Linked DNA regions of Homo sapiens: regions 1 and 3 are each linked to region 2. Evidence: promoter capture Hi-C in human tissues and cell types (Jung and others, 2019). All regions are on one chromosome and are shown on one strand. Each heading gives the region's core, a stretch centred on a gene start or on the middle of the fragment in contact. The rest is flanking DNA. Distances are from core to core; before and after follow the strand shown.

Region 1 (3,560 bases), core at 306-2,805, 740 kb before region 2:
TGCCTCCCTCTCCCCCAGAACCCACTCAGCACAAGAGAACAACTTTGACTCCCTATGATTTCATCTCCAACCCAACCAATCAGCATTCCCCAATTCATGGCCCCCTATCTACCAAATTATCCTTAAAAAACCCCAGTCTCAGGAGGCGGAGGTTGCAGTGAGCTGAGATCGTGACATTGCACTTCAGCCTGGGCAACAGGAGCAAAATTCTGTCTCAGAAAACAAACAAACAAATAAACAACAACAACAACAAAAAACCCCAGTCTCGCAATTTTCAGGGAGACTGATTTGAGTAATACTAGTAAGACTCCAGTATGCTGTTCATCCAACTCTGTGTGAATAAAACTCTTTTTCTTTTGCAATTTCCCTGTCCTGATAAATTGGCTTTATCTGGGCAGTAGGAAAAATGAACCCTCTGGGTGTTTACACGTTCATTTTAACAATACAATAATGGTTATTAATCTTTGCATTAATCTTTGCTTCCAGTGGAAGAATTTTGCATCTGAAGGACCATCTGAAATGATAGGTGAATTTGGATCTGTAGCCTTTGGGAACATCTACACTAACTCTGAAATAATATTTTTCCATACACTAGGGTAATCAGTTACAGCCAATAACCCCAAGAAATCTCAATGTGAGTTCTAAGGAGAGGCAGGATGATCCTCTGCCTAGGAGAAAGATCTGCAATCTTTTATTTATTTTTTTATTTTTATTTTTATTTTTTTTTCCAACATGGAGTCTTGCTGTGTCACCCAGGCTGGAGTGCAGTGGCAGGATCTCACTCACCGCAACCTCTGACTCCCATGTACAAGAGATTCTCCTGCCTCGGCCTCCCCAGTAGCTGGGATTACAGGCGCATGTCACCATGTGGGTTAATTTTTGTATTTTTAGTAGAGGCGGGGTTTCACCATGTTGGCCAGGCCAGTCTTGAACTCCTGACCTCAGGTGTTCCACCTGCCTCGGCCTCCCAAAGTGCTGGGATTACGGGCGTGAGCCGCCCGCACCTGGCCCTTATTTTTATTTTTTAGATAAGAGGTCTCGTTCTGTTGCCCAGGCTGGAATGCAGTGGTACGATCTCGGCTTACAGCAGCTTCGAACTCCTGAGCTCAAGCGATTCTCCCTCCTCAGGCTCCCTAACCCTAACCCCAACCTTAGGGCAGCTGGGACCACAGGCCCGCCCGACCACACTCCGCTAATATTTTTTATTTTTTGTAGAGACAGGATTTTGCTTTGTTGCTCAGGCTAATTTCTAACTCCTGACCTCAAATGATCCTTGTGACTTGGCCTCCCAAACTGGTGGAATTACAGGCGGGAGCCACCATACCAGTCAGGACGCACATCTTAAGGATACTCCCGAGGTGAAGCTGGGCTTTTCCTGCAGAAGCGCCTCTGGGAATTGCGCCCTTTACCCTCCTTGTTGCCTAGGGAACTACATTACCCAGAAAACTCAGCCTCGAATGATAGCGTAGAAGACCTCTGAGGGCTCAGAATAAAGGCGTTTCCTGTGTGCACGTGACAATGGGTCCGGACTTCCGGCGCCCTCTGGTGGCGGCCATTTTGATTGGTGTTGGATTTATTTGTAGGAGAGGCTCCTGAGCGCTAGGTCCGCACTGTGGTGACTGAACCCAGAAGTCGGGGAGCAGTTGTCCTCCGCTGCACAGAGGCTACTCTGGAGCTCTGTGACGGCGCCCAGCGTGACCCACTCCTGGGCCAGGATACGGACCGTCGTGCCCATATCTCCTGGCTGGTCGCCCTATCCTCCCGACTCTGCTTAAAACCACGTGGTTCGATGGCTGCCGCGGCTACGCTGAGGCTCTCCGCTCAGGTAATTGTGGGGCCTTCTGTGTCCTCAGGTCACCTCATCGTCACCCAAAAGCAGCGAGGTAGCAGCGCCTGTTCACGGCTCTGCAGCCCGGACGCCGGCGTTGGGACACTGAGGCGCTTGCGGGAGGGGCCCCATTTCTGACACCCGTGGGATGCGGTGGGGAGACCGGCAGGTACAGGGACTGGCGCGGGCAAAGGCCTGGAAGTGAACTGAGCCAGAAGGATGGAATCTGGGGTCCACAGGTGCCTGTTGGGAGCAAATTATGAGGCGGAGCTCCTCCTGGAAGAGCAAGCAGGCTGGGGGCTATGAACTCACGTGAGGACCCTAGAAGGCATGGAGATTTTCGAAGAAAGGAGGGATGTCATGAGCATTGTAAGGGTAGAGATAATCAGGTCCATGCATGTTTGTGTCTTTGCACAGTGTCAGGTGATATTTGAGTCAACAAAAGCCATGAGCTAAATGGAGTTCGAAGGAGGCAATTCTCTTGTGATTCCAGTTCACTTGGTAGTTGGCCATGGGCACAGAGGCTGAAGACACTCCCCAAGTCAGTCAATATAGCAAACAATACACAATAGTATACTTAACATGTAAATGTTAAAGGTTAAACATAACACTGTTGTACCCGGGCGAGTTAGAAAAACGCCACACTTTGAGACGAATTAAGAGTCCTTTATTCAGCTGGCGGCCAAAGAGACGGCTAACGCTCAAAATTCTCTCGGCCCCGAGGAAGGGGCTTGATTAACTTTTATACTTTGGTTTAGGAAGGGGAGGGGAGCTTAAATGCAACAACTCTTCAGAAGTAAAAACATGCAAAAAATTAAAAGGATAAATGGTTACAGAGAAACAAACAATTTAAAAGACAAATGGTTACAAAAAGGCAAGGTACCAGGTGTGGCGCTCTAAATCCTTCATAAGAGTTAGATATGGGCACTACGCCAGACACAAACTCAAGGCTTTATGGTGTTATCTTTTGAGCAAAATCCTGGGAACTTCATACATGGTTTGTTCCCAGTCCCTTATCAGTTAATTGGACTCCTTTGATATGTTGAGAATCTGCTTACACAAGTTAACTCCTTGAGGAAAGGGGGGTGGGTAAGGAGTCCTTAATGTCTTGTAAATCAAGGGGGCCAGGTGGAGCTCGTCTGGCTTTCTCAGCTAAGCGAGAGTCTATTCATGTGGAAACGAGGCTAGGTGATTAAGAGAGCAAAAGGGAGAGTCTAAAAACAGGATTAGTGAAAACAAGGTTGGGCATTACAACACAAGGAACAAAATAATGCTTAGCATCAAGAGGAAAAAGATATAGGAGCAAACGTTATGGAACCAGTTTAGAGGGAGCAAGGAAGACAAAAGGCATCTTGGTCTGGGCCAGTTGGTGGGCAATTGGCCTGCAGTCTTACAAGGAAGAGTCTTTGAGGTGGCAGAGCCTTAGGCAGCAGATGCTGAGTTTTGAGCTGCTGAAGGCCTAATCTTTTACAGTTACAGAATACTCTGGTGAGAACTGATAGTGGAAGAGTTTCCTTGTTTGTGACCTTACCTGGTTAGATGTAGTCTTTATTTTTTATTTTGTTTTGTTTTCTTGAGACGGAGTTTCGCTCTTGTTGCCCAGGCAGGAGTACAATGGTGTGATCTCGGCTCACTGCAATCTCTGCCTCCCGGGTTCAAGCGATTCTCCTGCCTCAGCCTCCCAGTAGCTGGGATTACAGGCATGCGCCACCACACCCGGCTAATTTTTTGT
Region 2 (3,536 bases), core at 1-2,500:
ATATATAAAATCACTCCACCCCTTTCCGTTCACCTGCAGGCTTGCTCTGTCTCTCAGGCTGGAATGCAGTGGCAAGATCCTTGCTCACTGCAGCCTTGACCTCTTGGGCTCAATTGATCCTCCCACCTCAGCCTTCCAAGTATCTGGGACTATAGTAGTCCGACACGGCGGCTGGGATTCAGGCTGGCTGGGTCATTTTGCTTTTTTTTTCTTTTTTTTTTTTTTGAGATGGAGTCTCCCTCTGTCGCCCAGGCTGGAGTGCAGTGGCATGATCTCAGCTCACAGCAACCTCTGTGTTTTGGGTTCAAGCAATTCTGCCTCAGCCTCTTGAGTAGCTGAGTAGCTGGGACTACAGGTGTGTACCACCATGCCCAGCTAATTTTTGTATTTTTAGTAGAGACAGGATTTCACCATGTTGACCAGGCTGGTCTTGAACTCCTGACCTCAGGTGATCTGTCTGCCTCAGTCTCCCAAAGTGTTGGGATTACAGGCTTGAGCCACCGCACACCGCCAAGGGTCATTTGCTAATACGATCTTTGGATACCTCTTCTCCTGGGAGGAGGTCTAGTCTGGTGCATCCTGTCCCATGAAGTCTGGTTTAATCTCTTGGAATTCAGTTGGACGCTCAATTTTGGAAGGTCTCCATGTCTGCAGGCAAGGGCATGTAGCCTGTGTTTAAATTCAACACCCAGACTAGGGTGGGGATGGATTGGCATGTTGATCTCATTTTGAGAGTATTAGTACAGCTGAAGAGATTTTGCCAGTTGGAGGTTGGAGCCTGAATTCTTTCTGTCGGGCGGAGAGCACTTTAAGGCATTGTTCCACCTCCGCTGGCCCTATTTCTTTTTTCTTTTCCTTTCTTTTTTTTTTTTTGAGACGTGAGATGGAGTCTCGCTCATTGCCCAGGCTGGAGTGCAGTGGCACGATCTTGGCTCACTGAAGCCTCCGTCTCCCGGGTTCAAGCGATTCTCCTGCCTCAGCCTCCCAAGTAGCTGGGATTACAGGCACGTGCCACCATGACCAGCTAATTTTTGTATTTTTAGTAGAGACGGGGTTTCCCCATGTTGGCCAGGCTGGTCTTGAACTCCTGTCCTCCCAAAGTGCTGGGATTACAGGCATGAGCCACCGTGCCCAGCCAATTTTTGTTGTTTTAATTTATTTTCATCCTCTGACATTTGGATAATGTTTTCCATGCTTTCTATTTCAAAGTTAAGGTAAAAAATTTTTACTTGCATGAACTTAAAAAAAATTCCATTGGAAACTGATTGGGCAGATTTGAAAATTAAGCTTTCACAATCACAATTTTTATGAGAGTTCATTCAGTTTTGGAGAAGTCGAGGAAAGAATTGGGAATTGAAATTTTGATGTGGCCTGATAGGATCAGGTGGGGCTTTTGATAGGAAGTGAGTGTTTTGGGTTGTTTCTTGACTGGATTATGATGCGGAATACAGCGGGTAGAGGGCCGATTAAGTTTTAGTCATTAGTGTAGCTTTTCAGTATACACGCCTTTTCATTTTCAGTCCCTTTCAGAAGAAAAGACCACAGGCATCAGAAATCAATCAACTTGCTAATTTATGCCAGATTCCACTGGAGGTAAGCTGATTTTTTTTTCTCCCTGAAAACCAAATGTCTGGGTTTTGTTTGTTTGTTTGTTTTGCATTTTTACTTAGTTTCATTTTTCTACCTCTCCTATTTGCTGGAATAAGCTAAATATTTTACATTGGTAGTTTAGATTTTTTTTTTAGTTGTCATATTGAAAAGTGATGCTCCCAGGACACTCAAAATTATTTTCGTGGCCCTCCAGTCCTTAGCATTACTGCTGGCCCACAGCTACTTCTAAAAACTTTTTATTGACAAATAATAATTGTGTTTATTTATGGGGTACAATGTGATGTTTTGATACATGTTTACATTGGGGGGATGATTAAATCAAGCTAATTAATCTATTTTTGTGGTGAAAGCATTTACAATTTACTGTTTTTTAAAATTATATATATTTTTTGTGCTAGAATTGGACTCCTCAAACTTTAATAAACATTAAAGTTGTGCCCGGCAAGTTTATTCTTTTTAAAAACATATTTACTTATTTAAAACTTTATTCCTGGCTGGTGTGGTGGCTCATGCATGTAATCCCAGGATTTGGGGAGGCTGAGGGAGGAGGATTGCTTGAGCCTAGGAGTTTGAGACCAGTTTAGGTGACATAGCAAGATCCCTTCTTTACAAAAAATAAAAAGTTAGCTGATGTGGTAGCATGCACCCATAGTCTTAACTATTCAGGAGGCCAAGGTAGGAGGATTGCTTGAGCCAGGGATTTTTAAACTGCTGTGAGCCGGGATCACATCACTGCACTCCAGCCTGGGTGACAGAATGAGACCCTGCCTCAATAAAATAAAATAAAAAATAAAAACTTTATTACTTAAACATTGAGACAGAGGTTTCACTATGTTGCACAGGCTGGTCTCAAACTCCTGGGCTTGGCTGGATGTGGTGGTTCACGCCTATAATCCCAGCACTTTGGGAGGCTGAGGCCGGCGGATCACTTGAGATCAGCAGCTCGAGACCAGCCTGAACAACATGGTAAAACCTTGTCTCTACTAAAAATGCAAAAATTAGCTGGGCATGGTGGTGCATGCCTGTAATCCCAGCTACACGGGAGGCTGAGGCAGGGGAATCCCTTGAACCCGGGAGGCAGAGGTTGCAGTGAGCCGAGACTGTGCCACTGCACTCCAGCCTGGGCGACAGAGCAAGACTTGGTCTTAAAAAAAAAAAAAAAAAAGTAACTCCTGGGCTCAACTGATCCTCCCACCTTGGCTTTCCAAAGTGCTGGGATTATAGGTGTGAGCTGCCACGCGTGGCCAAAATCTACGCTTTTGGCAAAGAATTACCAATGATCCAGCTGTCCCGCTTATGGCAAAGCTGAAGGGCTATCTGCATCCCATGTTCACTGCGGCGTTATTCGTCACGACCACAGCTGCTTCAGGATTCATGGTTTCTGCTCTCGGCCTTCCTTACTGTGCTCTAGCTGATCTGATGCTTGCCTCATTGTCTTTGCACAGGCTTGTTTTAAAGGTGCTGTTGAACTGCTGTTTAGCTTTCTCTCTCTCTCTTTTTTTTTTTTTTTGGGACGGAGTCTCGCTCTGTCGCCCAGGCTGGAGTGCGGTGGCGCGATCTCGGCTCACTGCAAGCTCCGCCTCCCGGGTTCCCGCCATTCTCCTGCCTCAGCCTCCCGAGTAGCTGGGACTACAGGCGCCCGCCACCACGCCTGGCTAATTTTGTTTTTGTATTTTTAGTAGAGACAGGGTTTCACCGTGTTGGCCAGGATGGTCTTGATCTCCTGACCTCGTGATCCGCCTGCCTCGGCCTCCCAAAGTGCTGGCATTACAGGCATGAGTCACCGCGCCCAGCCAATTTTGTATTTTTAGTAGAGACGGGGTTTCACCATGTTGGACAGGCTGGTCTCGAACTCCTGACCTCTGGTGATCTGCCTGCTTCAGCCTCCCAAAGTGCTGGGATTACAGGCGTGAGCCACCGTGCCT
Region 3 (3,903 bases), core at 972-3,471, 520 kb before region 2:
CACAGTGGCTCACATCTGTAATCCCAGCACTTTTGGAGGCTGAAAGTGGGCAAATCACTGGAGGCCAGGAGTTTGAGACCACACTGGGCAACATGGCAAAATCCTGCCTCTACAAAAAATAGAAAAATTAACCTGGTGTGGTGGTGTGCGCCTGTGGTCCCAGCTGCTCAGGAAGCTAAGGTGGAAGGATCACTTGAGCCTGGGGAGGCTGAAGCTGCAGTGAGCTGTGATTGGGGCTACTAAACTTTAGCCTGGGTGATAGAGATCTTGTCTCGAAAAAAAAAAAAGAATTACTAGAACATAAAGTCATACGATAGACTTTTTGAAGAAAAATCTTCAGTCACACCAGGCCTTTATACAGAGTTCACAACATCAAGCCCTTTTGGGTCAGAGCTGTTGTAACAAAAGACCATTCCCTACACCTGGGAGACCCCCATATCTCTGTAGTTAGGAATTTTCCTGAAATAGCTATGCCTACATACACATGTATACACACTCAAAGACACAAAATTATGTATACACACTCAAAGACACAAAATGTATACACACTCAAAGGCACAAAATTTTCCTTCCATTATGGAAGCTTACCTCCTTGGTTGACTGGGTAATCCCGGGCCGAACACTGAGCTGATGTGTGACTAGCTTTCCACACTGGGTTTATCTGATGTGCCTCCTAAGGCTGCTCCCTTTTATAGGGGCTGGGATCAGTGATTGATTTAAAGACGTGATTGGATAACACTTGTCTGTTGATTGAATTACTGATGGAATCTTCATCCAGCCCCAGCTCCATGTCAGTGATTGATTTAAAGACGTGATTGGATAACACTTGTCTGTTGATTGAATTACTGATGGAATCTTCATCCAGCCCCAGCTCCATGTCTCTAATACAGTGTTCTATACCATCACTGGTCCTGGGTCAACAGGTCATAAACAAACACATTAATATTTCTGCAGGCTAGGTGCAGTGGCTCACACCTGTAATCTCAGCACTTTGGGAGGCTGAGGCAGGCAGATCACCTGAGATCAGGAGTTCAAGACCAGCCTGGCCAACATGGTGAAACCCTTTCTCTACTAAAAATACAAAAATTAGCCGGGCATGGTGGTGGGCACCTGTAATCCCAGCTACTTGGGAGGCTGAGGCAGGAGAATTACTTGAACCTGGGAGGCAGAGGCTAGAGTGAGCCAAGATTGCGCCACTGCATTCCAGCCTGGGAGACAGAGCAAGACTCTGTGAATCCCTAGCCTGAGCAACAAAGCAAGACCCTGTCTCTACCAAAAATAATGTTAAAAATGTTAGCCAGGCATGGTGGCATGTCTGTGTAGCTTGTTTGAGCCAGGGAGTTCATGGCTACAGTGGATTATGACCGCCCTACTGAACTCTGGCCTGGGAAATGGAAGGAGACCAAGTCTCTAAAAAAAAAACAAAACAAAACGAACAAAAAAAAAACCATGCCTGTAATCCCAGCACTTTTGGAGGCCGAGGTGGGCGGATCACGAGGTCAAGAGTTCGAGACCAGCCTGGCCAATATGGTGAAACCCCATCTCTACTAAAAATGCAAAAATTAGCCAGGCGTAGTGGCGCGTGCCTGTAGTCCCAGCTATTCAGGAGGCTGAGCAGAAGAATTGTTTGAACCACAGAGGCGGAGGTTGCAGTGAGCTGAAATTGTGCCACTGCACTGCAGCCTGGGCGACAGAGGTAGACTGTCTCAAAAACCAACAAACAAACAAACACACACAAAAATACAAAATCTGCGGTAAAATGTAACAAGGTCCACATTAAATGAAAATATAAAGACAGGCTGGGTGTGGTGGCTCGCGCCTGTAATCCCAGCACTTTGGGAGGCCGAGGCAGGTGGATCATGAGGTCAGGAGTTTGAGACCAGCCTGACCAACATGGTTAAACCCGGTTTCTATTAAAAATACAAAAATTATCTGGGCGTGGTAGCATGCACCTGTAATCCCAGCTACTCAGGAGGCTGAGGCAGAAGAATTGTTTGAATCCAGGAGGCAGAGGTTGCAGTGAGCCGAGATTACGCCACGGCACTCCAGCCTGGACGACAGAGCGAGACTGTGTCTCAAAAAAAAAAAAAAAAAAAAGGAAAATATAAAGACAAACGTTAGTCTCACAAATTCTGATCAAGTTTTATTATAAATTACTCATAGAAACATGACAAACTTTTGCTCAAACTTTTAAGTTTTCAGAGATTTATGAATTACAAGGGTGGCAGAGGGCAAGGCTAATGCTGTGACTCCTGTGCCAATTCCAGGCTGGTGAAACAGAGGGGGCCCGGGACCCAGAGAAGGCATTCCTAATCCATCAAAAAGATGACAGGGGTTGAGACTAGGATTATATCAGTGGAAAGGGAGAAATTGGTGCATATTTTATATTGAGAAAGCATATGATGTTTGATAGACTTAACATGAGGCTTGAGAGAGATGGAGGAGTTAAAATGGTGAGAAGCGCCTGGTCACCTAGTGTGGTGGAAGCTGTGCCTTCTTCCCTGCACTCTCCCTCCCCACTTTCCACCCTCATACAGGCTGAGGCTTTGGTGGAGTTGAGAACGTATCGAAGGGGTGGGAGCTAATTACAGCCATGTGTTTCATCTGCTCCATCAGGCATGCAGCCTCTTGGGGCTTAGATTGTCCCCCTATCACTGTTGGGTACAGAGTTTGAATCTCCTGGTACTCCACTGATGAAATGTCTGCTTGACTTCCCCACATTAGGAATTATGTTCTGAATCCTCACATTATAAGACTGTGTACTAGTCCATTTCTCCAAGGAGTTTCATCCACATATACTCCATACAGAGAAGTATCCCTGCTCCCATCAAGAGCCAATTTTCCACTGGTGGTTTAGGTCCTGTCACCAACTATGTCATTAAACCAACTGTGACAGGAAAATTGGCTCTTGATGGAAGCAGGGATACTTCTCTGCTACAACAATGAAAAATGGGCTGGGCGCAGTGGCTCATGCCTGTAATCCCAGCACTTTGGGAGGCCGAGGCGGGTGGATCACCTGAGGTCAGGAGTTTGAGACCAGCCTGGCCAACATGATGAAACCTCGTCTCTACTAAAAAAATACAAAAATTAGCCAGGCATGGTGGCAGGCACCTGTAATCCCAAGTACTCGGGAGCCTGAGGCAGGAGAATCACTTGAACCTGGGAGGCCGAGGTTGCAGTGAGCCAAGATCGCACCACTGCTCTCCAGCCTGGGCGACAGAGTGAGACTCTGTCTCAAAAACAAACAAACAAACAAACAAAAAACAAACAAAAAAAAAACAATGAAAAATGTAGACAATGTGAGTACCACTGGAGGCCAGTTGTTAATTTGTGGTGGGTTGAAAGCATTTCCTGTCTGCTTCTGCAGTCTCAAGGAGTTCCTTGAGCTCTGTAAGGAGCTGTAAGGAAAAGGTTTGGGGAAAAGCTGGCAATTTCTGTTTGGAGGAGGTTATTGGATTTTTGAGTTCAGATATACAGCCAGCTGTTGGACATGCTGGTGTGTAACTCTGGGAGCAGTTAGACCTGAGGCACGATGATATCAGTAAGAGTAGTAATAGCATCAGGGATCATAATAACTAACCTTTAAGCAGTCAGGGCATATTTGACTCTGTTCTCAGTGCTTTCTGTATGTTAACCCATTTCCATCACAACAGTCCTGTAAAGTAGATCCTAAATAACTCCATTTTAACATCAAAATAACAGAGGCACAGAGAAGTTCAGTACCTTGGCCAGTGCTACATAGCCTGTAAGTGGCTGGGCTAGGATTTGATACCTGGCTCCAGAGTGGGACTCTGAATGCTACATTAAGAAGGCAAAGACACACAGCCACTGTGTAAAACCAGCAGCTTTCTAGGGAATGGGCTAATGGAGGAGTGAAGGGCATGAGCAGGAGGATTTATCCTT

The links. The method cuts DNA at HindIII sites, captures the fragments that hold promoters and counts their contacts. A contact is called where the count stands out against the background at its distance.
Region 1: a contact is called between the fragment with the promoter of ZNF814 here and the fragment with the promoter of ZIM3 in region 2, in 2 of the 25 tissues and cell types used here (adrenal gland and stomach).
Region 3: a contact is called between the fragment with the promoter of ZSCAN4 here and the fragment with the promoter of ZIM3 in region 2, in 1 of the 25 tissues and cell types used here (hippocampus).

What each region holds. Positions count from the first base shown.
Region 1 is chr19:57,887,032-57,890,591 of GRCh38, reverse strand. It overlaps ZNF814 (zinc finger protein 814), which reads left to right and starts at 1,555. Exons shown (of 3, transcript NM_001144989.2): 1 at 1,555-1,825. The coding sequence starts at 1,790. RefSeq lists enhancers at 1,845-1,894, 1,568-2,110, 2,111-2,654, 2,679-3,411. The HindIII fragment of the contact is 24,676 bases long and covers 1-3,560 here.
Region 2 is chr19:57,142,916-57,146,451 of GRCh38, reverse strand. It overlaps ZIM3 (zinc finger imprinted 3), which reads left to right and starts at 1,250. Exons shown (of 5, transcript NM_052882.1): 1 at 1,250-1,593. The HindIII fragment of the contact is 26,155 bases long and covers 1-2,799 here.
Region 3 is chr19:57,667,253-57,671,155 of GRCh38, reverse strand. ZSCAN4 (zinc finger and SCAN domain containing 4) reads right to left here and starts at 2,221. Exons shown (of 5, transcript NM_152677.4): 1 at 1,953-2,221; 2 at 589-911. The HindIII fragment of the contact is 8,369 bases long and covers 1-3,903 here.